Regions from separate parts of the Homo sapiens genome. Here all the other regions are linked to region 4. Evidence: promoter capture Hi-C in 16 types of primary human blood cells and fetal thymus (Javierre and others, 2016). All regions are on one chromosome and are shown on one strand. Each heading gives the region's core, a stretch centred on a gene start or on the middle of the fragment in contact. The rest is flanking DNA. Distances are from core to core; before and after follow the strand shown. Region 1 overlaps SLC25A32 (solute carrier family 25 member 32). Region 2 has its middle 33 kb from the start of DCAF13. Region 3 overlaps RIMS2 (regulating synaptic membrane exocytosis 2). Region 4 holds the start of BAALC (BAALC binder of MAP3K1 and KLF4).

Region 1 (4,060 bases), core at 1,243-3,742, 260 kb before region 4:
CTTTGTGGTATATGAAAACGTCTCACATTTTTTACTTGACCTTAGAGAAAAGAGAAAGTAAGCTCAAAGAGGACAATTCCAGTATATCTGCCCAAGGCAGCAACAAGCTCTTTTGTGTTTAAGGCATAAAAGAAGAATTCTGCATAGAAACATGGCTCATATTCGAAATTGCTCTATAGTCATTAGAAGCCAGAGAACTGCTAAGTCTCCTGCAATGTTTTTCTTGCTTTTTGCCTTCCCCATATATATGGAACTTGGCTACCTCTGCCTGAAATGGCTGCCATCAACACAATGTTAAAACTGACACGAAGGATAGAGTTTCACAGATTTCTACGTTTTATTGGTGGAAGCTGATTTGCAACATTTGCTAAATGGATTAGATGAATGTACTTCTTTTTGTGAGCTTACTTGCCTGGATTGCTTTAAAATTAACCTTTGTGCAATACCAAGAAAATAGCTCTTTAAAAGAATGTCTTTGTATGTCTCAAGGTAAATTAAGGATTTACTGAATAAGGTGTTGACCAAATCCAGACCATTTTATTTTATTTTTTTATTTATTTATTTTTTGAGATGGAGTCTTGCTTTGTCGCCCAGGCTGGAGTGCAGTGGCGTGATCTCAGCTCACTGCAACCTCCACCTCCCGGGTTCACGCCATTCTCCTGCCTCAGCCTCCTGAGTAGCTGGGACTACAGGCACCTGCCACCACGCCTGGCTAACTTTTTTTTATATTTTGAGTAGAAATGGGGTTTCACCATGTTAGCCAGGATGGTCTCAATCTCCTGACCTTGTGATCCGCCTGCCTTGGCCTCCCAAAGTGCTGGGATTACAGGCGTGAGCCACTGCGCCTGGCCAGACCATTTTAGAATTGGGAAATTTTAGTGAGAAAAAATGCACTGTAAATATGCTTTAGTTTTAATTCAGTTGGGATGCACTACCTAGCGAAAATTGAGAAACTATATACTTCTCAGAGAAATATCTGACATCTATTGTCATTCCATTGCTATTTTTTTTCCCCAGAGACTTCCATAATTTAAAATAAAATCCTAGATCCAGTTCTTGTTTTTTGGCATAAATACTTAATCTATTTTAAATTTATAAAATCTGAGCTTCTAGGATCCAGCTGTGTCAACCTTTATTTAGCATATATAACTATAAATCACTTATTACAGATGCTAAATAGATCACCTTTTACAGATGCTGAAATGTTTGGGATATGTTTGTTGACAAGGTAAATGGAAATGAGAAACTTTATACTTCAGTTTTCAGATATATGGATCTAGATCCCAAATAAATGATTAATCTTCATTGGTTTCTCAAATTCAGGTTGAAATACAAATTAATAGCCTTTATTGATTTTACTTTTATGAGTCATTGTAGACATCTATAAATATAAAAGGGCCTGTACCCAAAGGATGCCAGAATACTAGTATTTTTATTTATCGTAAACATCCACGAGTGCTGTTGCACTACCATCTATTTGTTGTAAATAAAAGTGTTGTTTTCAAAGCCATCTTTAAATAGTTCTTTAAAAATAGGTCTTTTTTTTATATTTTGGAAAAGGCATTGTTTTTAAAGTAAAGATAAAATGGTAAGTACCTAATTGTATTTACTGTAATATCTTATAACATGCAGATGAATGCTTTATAAGTTAAATATGATGTATTTTTTCATACTTCTGGATTATACTATAATTCATATGAAATCTTGATATTAGTCCCCACACGGAAAAAGTGAACTGCAGTTGATATTTGGTGTTTAAGATAGCACCATTGTTTAAATACCGCCTATGTACTCCCAAATGAATAAAACATAATTCTTGTCCTCTGAGAGCATACAAGCTTGTGTGATAGATAAATATGCATTAAATAATTACAGCTATAGATTAAGAACTCGTAAGGAATATCTCACAAAGCCTGGTAAGAGTTCTGACAGAAGAGAACTCAATTTCAGTCATTCAACAACAAATAGTCACTCAACTCCTGCTCTTTGGCAGGTACGTCACCAAGCACTGAGGATATAGCAATAAATAAGCCAGACAATATTCCTGCCCTCAGGGAATTTTCATCTTGGTGTAAGTGACAGAAAAGGAAATATATGCATAATGTAATTTCAGGTATTTAATGCTATAAATAAAACTACAGCAGAACGGGGGAATAGTGTTGCTATCTTAGGTAGTATGGTTGGGGTCAGGAAAGGTCTCTGAGATAGTATTTGGAACATTTTGAAAGAAGTGAGGAAGCGAGCCACAGTGAGAGGAAACACATTCTAGGCAGAGAGGACAGGAAGTAAAAAGGGCCTGAGGGAGGAATTAAGTTGGCTAGAGGGGATGGGTGAGGAGAGAGAGGAGGTTGGAGAAGTGGCCACTGCAGTATGGTGGGAAAGAGCTCAGGTGGGACAGCCAGGCCCTCTGGCTTCAAAATTCAGCTTTCCCATTTTCTGTTTGACCTTAGGCAGATCACTTCAGCCCTCTTTGTCTTAGGTTTCCTGATCTGTAAAATGGTGTCTTAGATCACTTCCTCTGTAACAATGCCGGAGATGGGGATTCTTGGGCAAGTGATTGAGGGAGCACTTTCAGGAGAAATCTGTAATGGAGTAAAGCAAGCAGGGTAAGGCCGGGGAAGAAGAGTTTCAGGAGTAGTGCAGCCTCACCCTGACTCATAGGGCACTCTGCTGAATGAATTGGGCCCAGCGTTGTCCTGCCCAGAGTTGAAGGGGCTGAGCCATTAGGTTCCCACATCAGGCTGTCACGGACCACTGGCTACAGGGAGAAAGGATGGAGGAGTGACTGTTACCTCTCCTCAGCCAAGGGCAATCCTCCAGATAAGGGTGGAGGTGTCAGTTCTTACCAGCCAACACCTACAGCAGCTAGGGTATGGGTGCACCAGTCCTGTGAAAGGGGTCTGGGTAAGTCACCAACAGCATCTACTGCAAATGAGGATATTAAAAGTACATAGCCGTAGGATTATTGAGAGGATTAAATTAATGAATTTTTAAAAGGCGCTTAGTGTGCCTGGGCCAATAAATGTTAGCAGAGACCAGGCCTTGTAGGCCATGGTGAAGAGTTTTGATTGAGAGATCATTCTGGTGATTGTATAGAGGAAACAGGAGAAAGGCAAAAAAGCAGGAATACTAGTTGGGAAGCTTTTACAAATGTCGAGTCATGAGCAGGTGGCAGCTTGGACCTGGTCGATGGAGTCTGAAGTGGTGATTTATAGCTTGGGGGAACTAGAGCAGGGTTCATGGAGGGGGAAACATTTAAGCTGGGCATTGAATGAAGATTCCAGAGGGAACCATGGAAAAAGGAAAGCACAGGTGACCTGCCTTGAACAGTGAGTTGTCAATTAATGTGATAATAAAAGGAAAAGGAAGAGAAAGATGGAAGATTGAGACCAGGACATGAGAACTCTCAGAGCCTGACAACCTATGTGGGCTTTATTGGGTAAAAGAGAAGTAAGAGTAATTAGAACAGAGAGACATGGCTACTGCTTAGGGGTGACAGAGGAAGACTGGTCAGACAGGAGGAACAAATTCAAAACAGAAGGTGTTAGTCAACCAATAGATATTTCAGTAGGATGAAGATTGATGCCACTGATAAAGCAGATTTGAATTATAGAGGCTGATGACACATTGCAAGCAACTTAGGGGGTGGGGTGACTGTAAGTATTTATTTCACTATGGGCTCTTCTTTCCTGGATTTTGGCAGATGAAAGGAAGGTAAAGAACTTTAGCTTGTAAAGGTACTGCAGTTCTACGAAGGAGTATAGGTAGGAGAGGTTGGCAAAGGGAAAACCAGAACATGGCTGTAGGGAGAACCCTTGAAGATAAAGATACAGGCTAAGGGGATGGGCACGGTGGCTCACGCCTATAATCCCAGCACTTTGGGAGGCTGAGGCGGGCGGGTCACGAGATCAGGAGATCGAGACCATCCTGGCCAACATGGTGAAACTTACTAAAAATACAACAATTAGCTGGGCGTGGTGGTGCGTGCTTGTAATCCCAGCTGCTCTGGAGGCTGAGGCAGGAGAATAGCTTGAACCAGGGAGTCAGAGGTTGCAGTGAG
Region 2 (3,838 bases), core at 382-2,881, 310 kb before region 4:
CACTTACTAGAGACATAATTGATTATTATAGAATACCAACAGATTTGGAGCAATTAATTTCTTCTACCTTATTTACTCTAACTTAAGCAAAACATGATTAGTAAAAGTATTTTAAGATATGTATTTCCTCTAGAAAATATTTCACATTTTTTTCTCATAAAATGAATCATAGTGATTTGAAAGTCCCAGATGGATAAATAGGAAACTTGTTACAGCTGAAATTGAATTCATTCATTATAAATCAGATTGGATAATGCTATTCAAAGCTTCATATTTCACCTGGAAAGAAATCTAATTAACAAGATTGCTTTTTACAAATTAATTTCCTGACCTATTTTCTTATAGAGTTGAAACTAAACTCAAATATATTTGTTCTAATTACTTAATACTTATATTCGAGCTTGAAACTCTTATATTTGGGATTCTATAAGCCGTGATAACACACGTAAAACCAAGTGAATTTTACAATTAAAATTAGAAATACTGAGAGTAGCTTTGAGGAACATGTATTATCATGCCAAACGCAATATTTGGGCTTATCTTCCTCCCAATTCTAATTGTTTAAGGGAACTTTTGTGTGATGTTTTGATTAAGAAGTCCTTGAGGGAAACAAGTATCTTCATAAGGAAGTTCAAGGTGTTAAAACCAACAAAAACCTTCATAAATGATGCAAAGCAAGGCTTCCTGAATGTGTTAGCTGGAGAGCAACACTTCTATATAAAGCTTCTATTTCATCCCTGCTAAAGTGAAGATAAAATTCCCTTTGAGATAATTATGAAGTCTGCAAAATTTGTGTTCTTCTCAGATGCAATGCATGCTAAGACCTCAGCTCTTGCTTGGCCAATTAAGGGTTGCATTTACTGGGAATGCCTGCAGTACTCTCAGCAGTGTGGTTTTGCAAGTTTGGGCAGAATTCAGGGGTTCATTGGTGGTTGGCCAGAGCACAGAGGGAGGGTTTCTGTGTGGTAGTTCAATTTAGGAACCAGGAAAGACATATACCAAAGTGTCCATTATGCTAGTAATAAGCCAGGCATGGCTGGCAGCCATGAGGAAGCAGATTTGGTAGGAGCTAGTCAGGGTTCCATGACACTACTCAACACAGGGGCTCAGGGTGGAGCCACTTGGAGAAAAGATGGCAATTGGGGTCTACACCCAGACCTGGGAGACACTGAGGGTCTAGGGAGCTTAACTGGATTCCAAGCCCTCATTATACTTCTTATTTCATTCAGTAGCACCAGAGGCAAGACTGAGCCTAAGAGCTGTTTTTTGGGGTGTATGTCAGAAAGCCTAGGATTATGGATCTAGGAAAACAGGCAGTGGAAATAAAGTTAAGATTTGCCCCTCTTCCAGTGCCCTTTATTGACTCGGGGCCACCTGTGCTACTTTCTTCTTAGTTTCTTCACCTCCCTCCCCATGTGAAAATACTGATTTGGTATTGCTATTTATTTTGATGATTAACTGATATGTACTGAGCATTTTATAGGCTTGCCTACCCACAGCTCATTTTGAAGACCCCCTACTTCTAGCCCAAGCTAAGACAGCTGTCAAAGGTAGACATCTGAAAGCCGCTAACCAGGACCTCTGATGGAACACTGCTACAAAAGACCCTGCCCCTAAATACACGTTTCTAGCTAAGTTTTCTTCTCTTAGGAACTGAAACTGAAAGACAGACGTAAGTGGATAATTGATGGGGCACTGGAACTGCAAAGTCATGTCAAGTCAGTCTGGGGCAGCCATTTTGGGACATGAAGAGCTGAAGCTATGGAAGAGTAGAAATTGGGAGCAAGGACAAGATAATTAGTAGAAAACGTACAGAATAGCGGCACAGAAAGTCTCATTTTTGTGGCTATCTACTGTCCAGCCCCAGAGTCCTGGATGTCTGGCCCAGCTGTATTGGGGTTCCTGTACTTGGGTTTCTGTGTGAGATTCCTGCTCACAAACTGCTTGAAATGCCTTGAGGAAAATATCATTCCCTGTAACAAAATGATCCCCAGTCTACAAGAAAACTATTTACTCAACTAACCATTGTATTTTTAATCTTTGTGTTCAGTTGCAGCAAAGATGTTTTATTCACTGAAGGCAGAAGACAGAATCATAAAATCATCCAGGCCTATTTTTAAAGCTGGCCCTACAGATAAAACTGATTTTCTCCTTGGGTGGATGAATTATGGAGGGTAAAGAGCAGAAGATTGTGTGTGTGTGTGTGTGTGTGTGTGTGTGTGTGTGTGTGTGTGTGTGTGTGTGTGTGTGTGTATTGTATATATTTTGCTGCTGGCTTTCCCTCTGTTCCTTTAAGTATGCACGGGCATGTGTGTGCACCTGCTGTAAGCCTACTTCTGTCGCTGCTGGCTGATCTTGCCATGGGCCCATCCATCCACAGGATTTGCAACACACTCAGCTCTGGCTCCGTGCCTCCATTTCTCACACCCACCTTCATTTTTACCTAATACTTGCCCTTTTTTTCCTCTTCCCTAAGACCCCCTAGATCTATATTTTGTGCTTTCTGATCCATTAATCTTAAGTACCCTAATGAAGCTTCTATCCCATAAGTCGCTTATCTCTCTGGAGAATATTAGCCCAAATCTTATAGTTGACCCTTAAATGACATGGATTTGAACTGCACAGCTCTACTCATGCAGAAATTTTTTTCAAACAGATAAAAAACACAGTATTCATGGGATGCGAAACATGCATATACAAAGGCCCAACTTTCTCATACCCAGGGGTTCCACAGAACTGACTTTGGGGACTTAAAAATGTATGGATTTTGGTATGTGCAGGACAGGGTTGTAGGGTCCTGGAACCCATCCCCCATGTATACAAGGGACAAATGTGAATTATTTGACCTAAGATAATGACTTTCTGATACAGATTGCTGGAATTTTCTTTCATTAACAGTGCCATATCTGAATGATGGATCACAGATTTTGAAAACAGCCCTACTGTATTTCTACTCACTCATGCAATATCCCAGAATCAAACGGTGTTTGATAAATGCCATTTACCTCTGAAGGGCTTCTTTCCCCAGCAGGAAGTCAGGCTTTCCTCTTGGGCACTACTATAGTATCCTGCTAAGACATCATAATGTGCTGCAATTACTTGTTTTCATGTTTATTTCCTTTGAGACTGAGCTCTTTTAGAATCTTTTATAGATTCAGTGCACAGTACTGAGACTAAATATGGATTATAATAGGACCTTCCTTTTGTGGTTCTTAGAATTAAATTAAGTGCATGTAAAGCATCTGCAGTGTTGTAGATGTCCAATAAACATCAGCTGCTATTGTTAATAGTATTAATTTAATAAAACTTGTGCCCTTACACCCAGGTTTCTGTCTTGGCTATCCCTGTGGATGGTATGTCATGCAGAGACAGGGAACATAGGAGATGAAATTTAGGGGCTGGAGCAAAATAATGAGCTCATTTCTGGATACTGGCTTCAGTGCTTGTGAAGACATCTGGCCACGAAGCTGGTATTGCCTTTGACTTAAAAAAACATACACACCTAGCTGGGACTCAATACATGTTGACTAAATGAAAAAATGCTCATTCAATAAATCATTAATTCATCCAGGTTCTTGGCCCTGACTTAATCTATTTAAATAATTTTAAGGGAAGGGAATCAAAGCAAACAATGTTTACTTTAAAATGTATGCACCATTAGCACTACTAGGAGTGTCACAATACCCCAAAACTGGAAAACACTGATCCATGTTTCAAAATCCTCGAATTAACTACTGATTTGGTATTTTCTAATATGGGACTTTAAGGCCCTGTATGAATTACCGATGTTCACTGGGTAGCAATCAATTTTGAATTTATTGCTCAAACATTCAAGCTG
Region 3 (4,002 bases), core at 1,409-3,908, 390 kb before region 4:
CTGTGTTGGCCAGAAAATTCAGAAAGTTATCTTTTTTTGCAGGTAACCAAAATGTATCACATGGCCCTCCAGAGAGGCACAGGATTACTGTATATTGGTAAACATCTCCCATTCTCATTTGGCAGAAAAAAAAAATATGCCATAGAAAACTAACCTTTCCATTTTCCCCTTAGTTGGAAAGATTAAAGCAAAAGACCATGGCAAAGACTATAATCAAGCAGCAGTCAGGGAATACTACCTGACTACTTAATATTACTACATTATTAAAAACCATTATTATAATTTCCCTTCACTGATCACTTGGTAAAGCCAGTGATCTGGCTTGGTAAAGCCAGACATGGTAAGTACTACCCTATGAAGGAAGTACTATTATCCTCATTTTATATAAGGAGGCTGAGGCAAAAAAAAATGAATTTGCTAAAGGTTAGATGCTTAAAAACCAGGCTTAGAACCCAAATCTCAAGGTCTCAAATTGCTGTCCTGGTAGAACAGAAGGATTGAAGAACTACTCTTTGACAAATACATTAGATCTTACTAAAACTGTCATATCCTTAACAATATCTCTGAATAAAGTATGTGTTTAGTGAGATACATTTTGAACTATTCTAAGTTTTCAATTCCAAAAATCACATTTTTCTAATTTCATTCAGGTTTCTTCAGGATTCAATGCCATTTGCTCTCAGGCGTTAACCATATAGCATTTGTAGAAACCTCAATTACAATATAATCACTGTTAATTTCTGTCTCCTTTACCATTGTGTTAGTTGAGCTCCTAACTATGTAGCCAAGTGCTTTATATGAATTTAATGTATTTTCTTATTTAAACCTCACACACACGCAAAATAAGTTGAGCTAAGTATTATGATTTTATGGGTGAGAAACTGAGACTTAATAGAGATTAGGACAAAAACCATGTCTTCTTCATCTATGTATCCCCAGTGCCTGGCAAATATGCTGCCATATAGTGAATTAAAAGTTCAATGAATAGATCAGAGAATTAATTTATCAGTTGTGAGTTTGGTTTTTGTTTTACAACCTATTGTCAAGTGTTGCAGTTTTCCTTTGTTATAGTTCTTGTCATTTTTAAATTTACAATCCAAAAATAGACATTATTCAAAGTGTGACTGATATGTTTTGGATCTATGTCCCAACCTAAATCTCACATCGAATTGTGATCCCCAGTGTTGGAGGGTGGGACCTGGTGGGAGGTGATTGGATCATAGGGGCAGAGCTCTCATGAATAGTTTAGCACCACTTCCTGGTGCTGTTCTCATGATGGTTAGTGAGTTTTTGCAAGATCTAGCTATTTAAAAGCGTATAGCACCTCCCCCTTCAGTGTCTCTTGCTCTTGCTCTGGCCATGCAAGATGTGCCTGCTTCCCCCTCACCTTCCACCATGATTGAAAGGTCTCCCCAGAAACCGAGCAGACGTCAGCATCATGCTTCCTGTACAGCCTGAGGAACCATGAGGTTAATTAAATTAACCTGCTTTTCTTTATAAATTACCTAGTCTCAGGTATTCCTTTACAGCAATGCAAGAATGGACTGATACAGTGACCAATGTACATCTTAAGATTATTTCACCGTTTCTATACTCTGCATTAATACTTCTCCTTTCTTACTGCTTGTTCTTAGGTCCATGGAGAGTCTTAAAGTCTTCTCTGCCATAAATCACATTTATAAAAGTATTTAAATAAACTTTAAATTTTTAATTTGGTCCCATACACACAAAAGTGCCCTTGTTTGTTTCTGCTAACACAAAGTCAAGAGAGCATCTTTCTAGAACTTACTACAACCAAAGTAGGTTATCAGAATATCTCTGCAGTTTCCATTCCCAGAAAATAAGTCTGAACCAAATAATTGGCTCCCCAGTAAAACACAATATGATGACACTAAAGTCAGAGGTGACCCAAACTACTATTTTATTATTAGCTGCTTCTACTTTTGCTATAGTCTCTACTTGTGTCAACTATATCATAAGAATACAAGTATTGAAGACAGATGGACTTGGCTTTTAACATACTACCTGCTACTGTAATTACTTGAACTCTGAGTTCCACCTATAAAATAAGCATGGTAGCAACTTCCCCCTGGATTTTTTGCTATAATAAAATGATACACATAAAGCACCTCACACCATGCCTACTGCTCTATACATGTTAGCTCCTTCTGAACTTTGTTCCTTATGTGATTTCACATTCTCTTCATCACTCGAATCTCAGAGTATTCAGAAGCTTATTAAAGTTGAGCTCTACTTATCTTGTCACATTTAGCTACCTGAAAGACTAAGCCATCACCCATTGCTAAACCTATCATTAATCAAAATGCACCAAATTGTTGCCCCACAGTTTGGGAAGAACTGAAGGTGAGGAAGCAGAACAGATGGCCAAAGTACACCACTGGCTCCTGGAGTCTAGCCAAAAGCTAACGTTGAATTCTGGCAAAGCTCTGCGGGCATTCAAATCAGTTCTTCTAGCTGTAATCGACTCAATAATGGGGCTACACATTACAGTATTAAAATCCTGTAGATATACTTGAGCCTGATCTGCCACCTATGGAATGAATAATCACATTTCTGAGCAAGGTTCCTGGTAGTTTCTAATATCAGAGTCAAAAGTCTAGGTAGAGAGAAGGCTTTTCTAGCAGTATAGCTCATTGCCAAACTATGTAGAAATAATTAAGGGCAATCGATAGGCTGCATAGCAAGAGAAGAGGAAGCATTTATACTCCTCCTCCAAACTTACTCTACTTCTGCTAGCATAACCTCTGCTACAGCTAATGCTTACATGACTAGGATAAAATTTCACAAAGAGAAAGTTCTGACATTCAGAGCTGATGATAAAGGTAGTTGTTGAAATTAACCATATATAAGTACATTCTAAAGTCGTAAATAACAATTTATATTCAAAGGCAAAAAAACATTCTTTTAGCCAGAAAGAGGCAACAGTAAACTGGATATTTTCAAGCTAAAGAGAAATAAATTTCTCTTGTTCATTCAAAGAAGAAAATCAATACAATGTAAAGATTTCAAATAAGTCTCAACTGGTATTTTTTACTGGCCTAAATCAAGGGTTGGCAAGCTTTTTTTCCTGTAAAGTGCCAGACAGTAAATAAGGCTTTGTAAGTCAAAAGGCAAAATTAAGGATAATGTGTAGTGCTAACAGAACAATAAAAAACAAATTTCTACAAAACCCTTATTGATAAAATTCAAATAATTGAATGTAATAATACAGGTCTACTGATGAGAATAATGGAATTCTCTTTGGGGGGAAAATATTTCACTCAATTGGGATTCAAAGTTAGTATTCCAAATGATCCAAATCAATTGCAAATGTCCTGTTGTTAATGCTGATCTGTAATATGATTTTATGTATTTCATTTTAGTAATATATTTTTGCACAGATAGGAAATACAAATACGTACTGATATCAAACAATGAGAATGTTTTTAATTGATGATATTCATCACTTAGAGGATACTTATAGAATTGAGTTTGAGACTTCTCTAGACATTTGCCTTTTAGCATGTTATACATCATACATTGCAGATGAAAGTTGGATATTAACTCTTCAATTACACAGTTAAATAAATTTTGAAATATGTATATGTCTTTTGTACTTGCTTCAAAGTCTGAAAAATTAGGTTGATACTATAGTCTGAGCTTGGAAAATATATCAACTGAAAATCTGTGTGGGAATGAGGAGCTCACTACTTAACTATTGACAGCATAGGAAGCATATAAAGTAGCTTGAAATTATTTGTGATAAACATTGTCATTGAAATGACTTTAAGTTCCATGGTAGAACTTATAAATTCCATATGTAAGCACAGTTTTACCTTATATGTGGAGCTTCTAAGTTGAACACAGAAATTTATCAATTTTGCAGCAAAAGCAAATTTCCAAAGCCATCCAGTGTTCAATAACAGGGCTTAGTGTATTTTTCAGAAACAGTTCAACGTCAGCCTTGAGCTCAAAAAATTGAAATAAAATTTTATGACTGCT
Region 4 (3,972 bases), core at 385-2,884:
CAAATATAGTGTAATGTATTGTACAGCTTTCACAGACAGTCCTCAATTTTAAAATAAAACCAAGTCACAAAGTTAATGTGGAAAAGGAGCCAGCTTTGGTCCTTAAAAATGGAGAAACCTATTCTTGATTAAAGTGACAGCTCTATTTAGTAGGCATGGATTTAAGATTCTTAACCTTGTAAAAGTAATTCGCATTTCCTTCCTCTTCCATATGTTATACATTATGCTTCAAATTAACCCTATTTTCCATTTTAGATTTCATTATTCAAAAATGCCAATAATATCAGTGGGTGAAGAAACACTTAAAACATTTTTATCCAAATATTGACCTTGCTTTGGACAACATCCATGTAATAAGTAGTGAGATTTTTTCCTTTTAATGTCACCAATATGTTTATGATTAAAGGTCAGTCTGTGGCAACAGTTTGCATCTCTGCGCTATAATTACTTGTTCTGCTAAAAAATAAAAAAATAAAATAAAATAAAATCCTGACTTATGACCTGACCAGACAATTCTTTGCATCTCCTTTTATCAGATTTCTGCTGGATGAGGAATGACCTAGGCAAGAGTATTTAATTTATAGTCAAAATCCACATGTGTGCCCTGCCTCCTGCAAAGCATTGGGACACCATAGGGTAGGGAGAGAAGTCCTTTGCTATGGAACAACTGCTCCAAAAGTAACCTAAAGTGCAGAACTAGCGATGGGGCGGGGTGCATTTATTTTGACCTAAACTGGGATTCTGGTCTTTGAAGCCCGCGAGTGGGCTCATTTCCTAGAGGGAGAAAAGGGGAAGCGACAAGAAAGACTCCACCCAGGCGATCCCAGGCAGGCGCCTTGTGTATAAATCCAGGGAGAGAGGGGCACCAGGTGGCCAATGGATGAGAAGTCACCCGGCTGGGTACGCAGGTGGCCAGGGGATGGCAGATGGGCCAAAGCGGGGCGGAGGCGGCCCTGGGCGGATCAGGGGGTGGGTGGCTGAGGGATATGTGTGCGGAGGAGGTGGGCTGTCCTCCCACCCACCGGTCTCCCGACCAGCGAGCAAGCTTTGGACAAGGCCAAAGAGCATTGGGCTGCTGGAAGCTGGGGCATCGGCGCAGCCTTCGGTAAGGGGCTCTGGTCGACCCCACTCCCTGGGCTTGCATCTGTCCACTGATCAGTGGGCAGGTCCTGCCTCTGCTTCCTCCCAGCCACCCCCGCCGCGCCATCAATTCCTCAGGGAACCGGCTCCTCTCTCAGTGCCCGGGCCAAGGCGCCCGGGGTAGCGGGCGGGCGAGGGTCTGCAGGGGCCCGGCCACTTACCCGAGTGCAGGCCGCCCGCTTCGGGGCCGCTGTCCGGGGCGGCGGCGCTGGGCGGCGCGTCCGAGTCGGTGTAGGTGAGCCAGGTGGATTCTGTCTCCCGGGTCCAGCTCTCGTAGTAGCGGGGCTCGATGGCATCCGCCCGGCTCCCGCCGCAGCCCATCCTCCTGCGCCGCGGGAGCGCCCAGCGGCTGCTCGGCTGTCGGCTCTGGCGGCGGCTCAGCCCCGGAGGCGCAGCCCCGGCCCGCAAGGAGGCGGCGGCGGCGACATCGCGTCCCCGCTCCCGCCCGCGCTGCAGCCGCGCGGAGCTCCTGCGGTGCCCGCCGCCCCTAGTCCGGGCCCTCTCCCAGCCCGTCCCTCCTCTCCGCCTCCAAGGCCCTCCCTCCCCTCCGGTCCCCACCGCCCAGTCCTCCCTCCCAGCGCCCTGGCCGCCCCAAGGCCCCCGCTCGCCCGCCCCCTCCCTCAGGGCTCCGTGACGGCCCGGGAGCAGGAGCAGCGGCCCCGCAGCCGGAGGAGGGCTGGGGCTCCCGAGGCGCTCGGACCCGTCTGGCCGGCATTACCGTTCCCAGTCTCTGGCCCATCTATCCATCCATCCATCCATCCATCCATCCATCCGCTCACCCGCTCATTCATTCATCCATCCATCCATCCTTCCTTCCTTCTTTCCATCCATCCTGGAAAGAACTGAAACTCTTATCACGGGACCCCAGGCTTTCTGGCCACCTGTTACAAAAGCAATGGAACTGGGAGCAACCCCGCAAAACTGGTCAGGGAGTATTGCCACTAAGACTTAAGGAACAGTCAGAGCCTATGCCTGTCGTATCTGATTTGGGGAGGCAGGAGTAGGGCTATGATTTTTAAGAGAGTTAGGCTAGGCAGTGTCACTTACACCCCTTCCAGCTGTGGTACTTCATGATCCTCTGAACTTTAAACTCGAGAAAGCAATAGATCACCTGGAACCACGCAGCATCCTGAACCCCCTCTCTGGGCAAGGCTTGGAGGCATGGCCGGTCCCTTCAAGCCCAGGGTGGCCTTGACATTCCCGGGATCCAGTTGTCAGCCTTTCTTTTCTCGGTGCACCCTCAGGTCCATGCGGGTTCAGACCTAGAGCTCAGACTTGCGTAGGCCAATGAATTTACCTGTTCCAAGAATCCAGAACAGGTGGTGAAAGATGAAAATCTTCTTAGCCTTCAAGAGGGGGGTAGGAAAGGGAAGGGTTTGGAAGAATAACTCTTCAATGACCAAGCTCTGCTAGAATATGGTATTAAGTATCATATTCATTCATTCATTCATTCAATGTATATTTACTAAATTCCTATTGTGGCAAAAGACTGTTCTAGTAGACATAATACATATATAATATATTTTGTATATTATCCATTGTATGTAGACTATAGGGTGTGATGTTTAATATAGCATGTAAAGCATAGAGAATATAGTACTCATTATATCCTATATAATTTATAGAATGTACGAGAGTACATTGTCTATAACATTTAGCACGTAGCATCCAATAGGTAGGGCAAGTTCAGAGCATTGCCTGGCACAGAGTAGGCCCTCAGTAAATGTCCAGTGAATTAATAATGAAGTATCTTTTTATAGTAATTTGATTCACTTAAATTATTGTAATTTGGGCTAAAGATGATCCAGTTGAGGGTAGAGCTGTCAGACATTCCTCTGGCAGGCACTCACCAGAATCCATAATGTGGAAGGGAGCAAAGATTCATGGAACTGTGGCCAGGGTCTCCTCCTCCTCATGCTGAGCGCAGCACCCGTTCGCACCCCAGGACTCAGGCTGGCCTCCTCTGCAGGCTTTGCTTCTCCTTTTGAGATGGCCTTGACAGGACTCTTCAACCTTGTTTTAGGTGTAAGGTGGAGGGAGTGCAGTTATCCGGGAAGTGGTGGCTTCCCTAGTCCTTTGGAATTCAGATGCCCTGTGCCTCTTTTCCTTCCCCCCTGAATATTTTGATTTCAGAAGAACCAGCTTTCAGGGAGAGAGAATACTTAACATCTCTAGCAGAGCCTGTGCTTTCCTCAGTTCTACGGCACAGTGCTCCTTTCATAACCAGCCACTTCGTGATGTCACCACCCAAAGAGCAGACAGACCAGAAAGAGTGTCTGAGTTAGACCGTCCTGGGGGAGTTCTAGAAAACGAAAGAAACTGAAAGAGCTAGAGCTTGGTGAGCACAGGAAACAGAGTAAACGTGAGGTGAAGTGGAGGGGTATCCTGGGGCCAAATAGAAACCCACATGCCCATATGTCTAAATTGTAAAAGCTATAAACCAAGTGAGCAAGTTTAATTGAAACATGGGCTGTCCTCATACCTTGACAAGTTATCTTCATAAAAACTTAAAAGGCCAGGTTCTAATGTAGAGTTCTCTCAGTCTTTGGAGTTCTGCACTGAACATGGCAGTGGGATTGTGGGTGGAATTGACCCACCCACTCCTCTTTCTATCCTCAGTTCAGTCCTGCTACACACGGGTCCTTGTGGGCCCATGGGTCTAAGGTCTGTCCATACTCCCCTCCCACAAATAGCTGCCCTTGGCCATCCCTCTGGCTGAGGAGCATGTGCCTGGGGGATGTGGTCTGCCCTCATGGGGTTTGCTTCCAGTACAAGCCCTGGAAGTAGGCTCAGTGGGTTTGGAGAAGAGAGTTGCAAGGTCTCAACTACCCA

Evidence for each region. Contacts are between HindIII fragments. The CHiCAGO score rates a contact against its expected background, and 5 or more counts as called.
Region 1: a contact is called between a fragment that was not itself captured here and the fragment with the promoter of BAALC in region 4, in 3 of 17 cell types (megakaryocytes, endothelial precursors and M0 macrophages). The highest score is 8.6, in megakaryocytes.
Region 2: a contact is called between a fragment that was not itself captured here and the fragment with the promoter of BAALC in region 4, in 3 of 17 cell types (megakaryocytes, M2 macrophages and endothelial precursors). The highest score is 5.6, in megakaryocytes.
Region 3: a contact is called between a fragment that was not itself captured here and the fragment with the promoter of BAALC in region 4, in 2 of 17 cell types (total CD8 T cells and activated CD4 T cells). The highest score is 5.2, in total CD8 T cells.

Annotation. Positions count from the first base shown.
Region 1 is chr8:103,396,412-103,400,471 of GRCh38, reverse strand. It overlaps SLC25A32 (solute carrier family 25 member 32), which reads left to right. Exons shown (of 7, transcript NM_030780.5): 7 at 1-1,834. The coding sequence ends at 61. Among named protein-coding and RNA genes, the nearest start is that of SLC25A32, 17 kb to the left of the region's middle. The HindIII fragment of the contact is 1,303 bases long and covers 1,841-3,143 here.
Region 2 is chr8:103,446,263-103,450,100 of GRCh38, reverse strand. No RefSeq gene overlaps it. Among named protein-coding and RNA genes, the nearest start is that of DCAF13, 33 kb to the right of the region's middle. The HindIII fragment of the contact is 1,812 bases long and covers 726-2,537 here.
Region 3 is chr8:103,533,979-103,537,980 of GRCh38, reverse strand. The region is part of intron 1 of RIMS2 (regulating synaptic membrane exocytosis 2); the gene reads right to left. Among named protein-coding and RNA genes, the nearest start is that of RIMS2, 35 kb to the right of the region's middle. The HindIII fragment of the contact is 846 bases long and covers 2,236-3,081 here.
Region 4 is chr8:103,138,387-103,142,358 of GRCh38, reverse strand. BAALC (BAALC binder of MAP3K1 and KLF4) reads right to left here and starts at 1,634. Exons shown (of 3, transcript NM_024812.3): 1 at 1,302-1,634. The coding sequence starts at 1,461. It overlaps LINC01181 (long intergenic non-protein coding RNA 1181), which reads right to left. Exons shown (of 6, transcript NR_145429.1): 5 at 2,991-3,153; 6 at 2,004-2,486. BAALC-AS2 (BAALC antisense RNA 2) reads left to right here and starts at 1,017. Exons shown (of 2, transcript NR_027071.1): 1 at 1,017-1,105. RefSeq lists a silencer at 1,409-1,598. The HindIII fragment of the contact is 3,212 bases long and covers 1,048-3,972 here.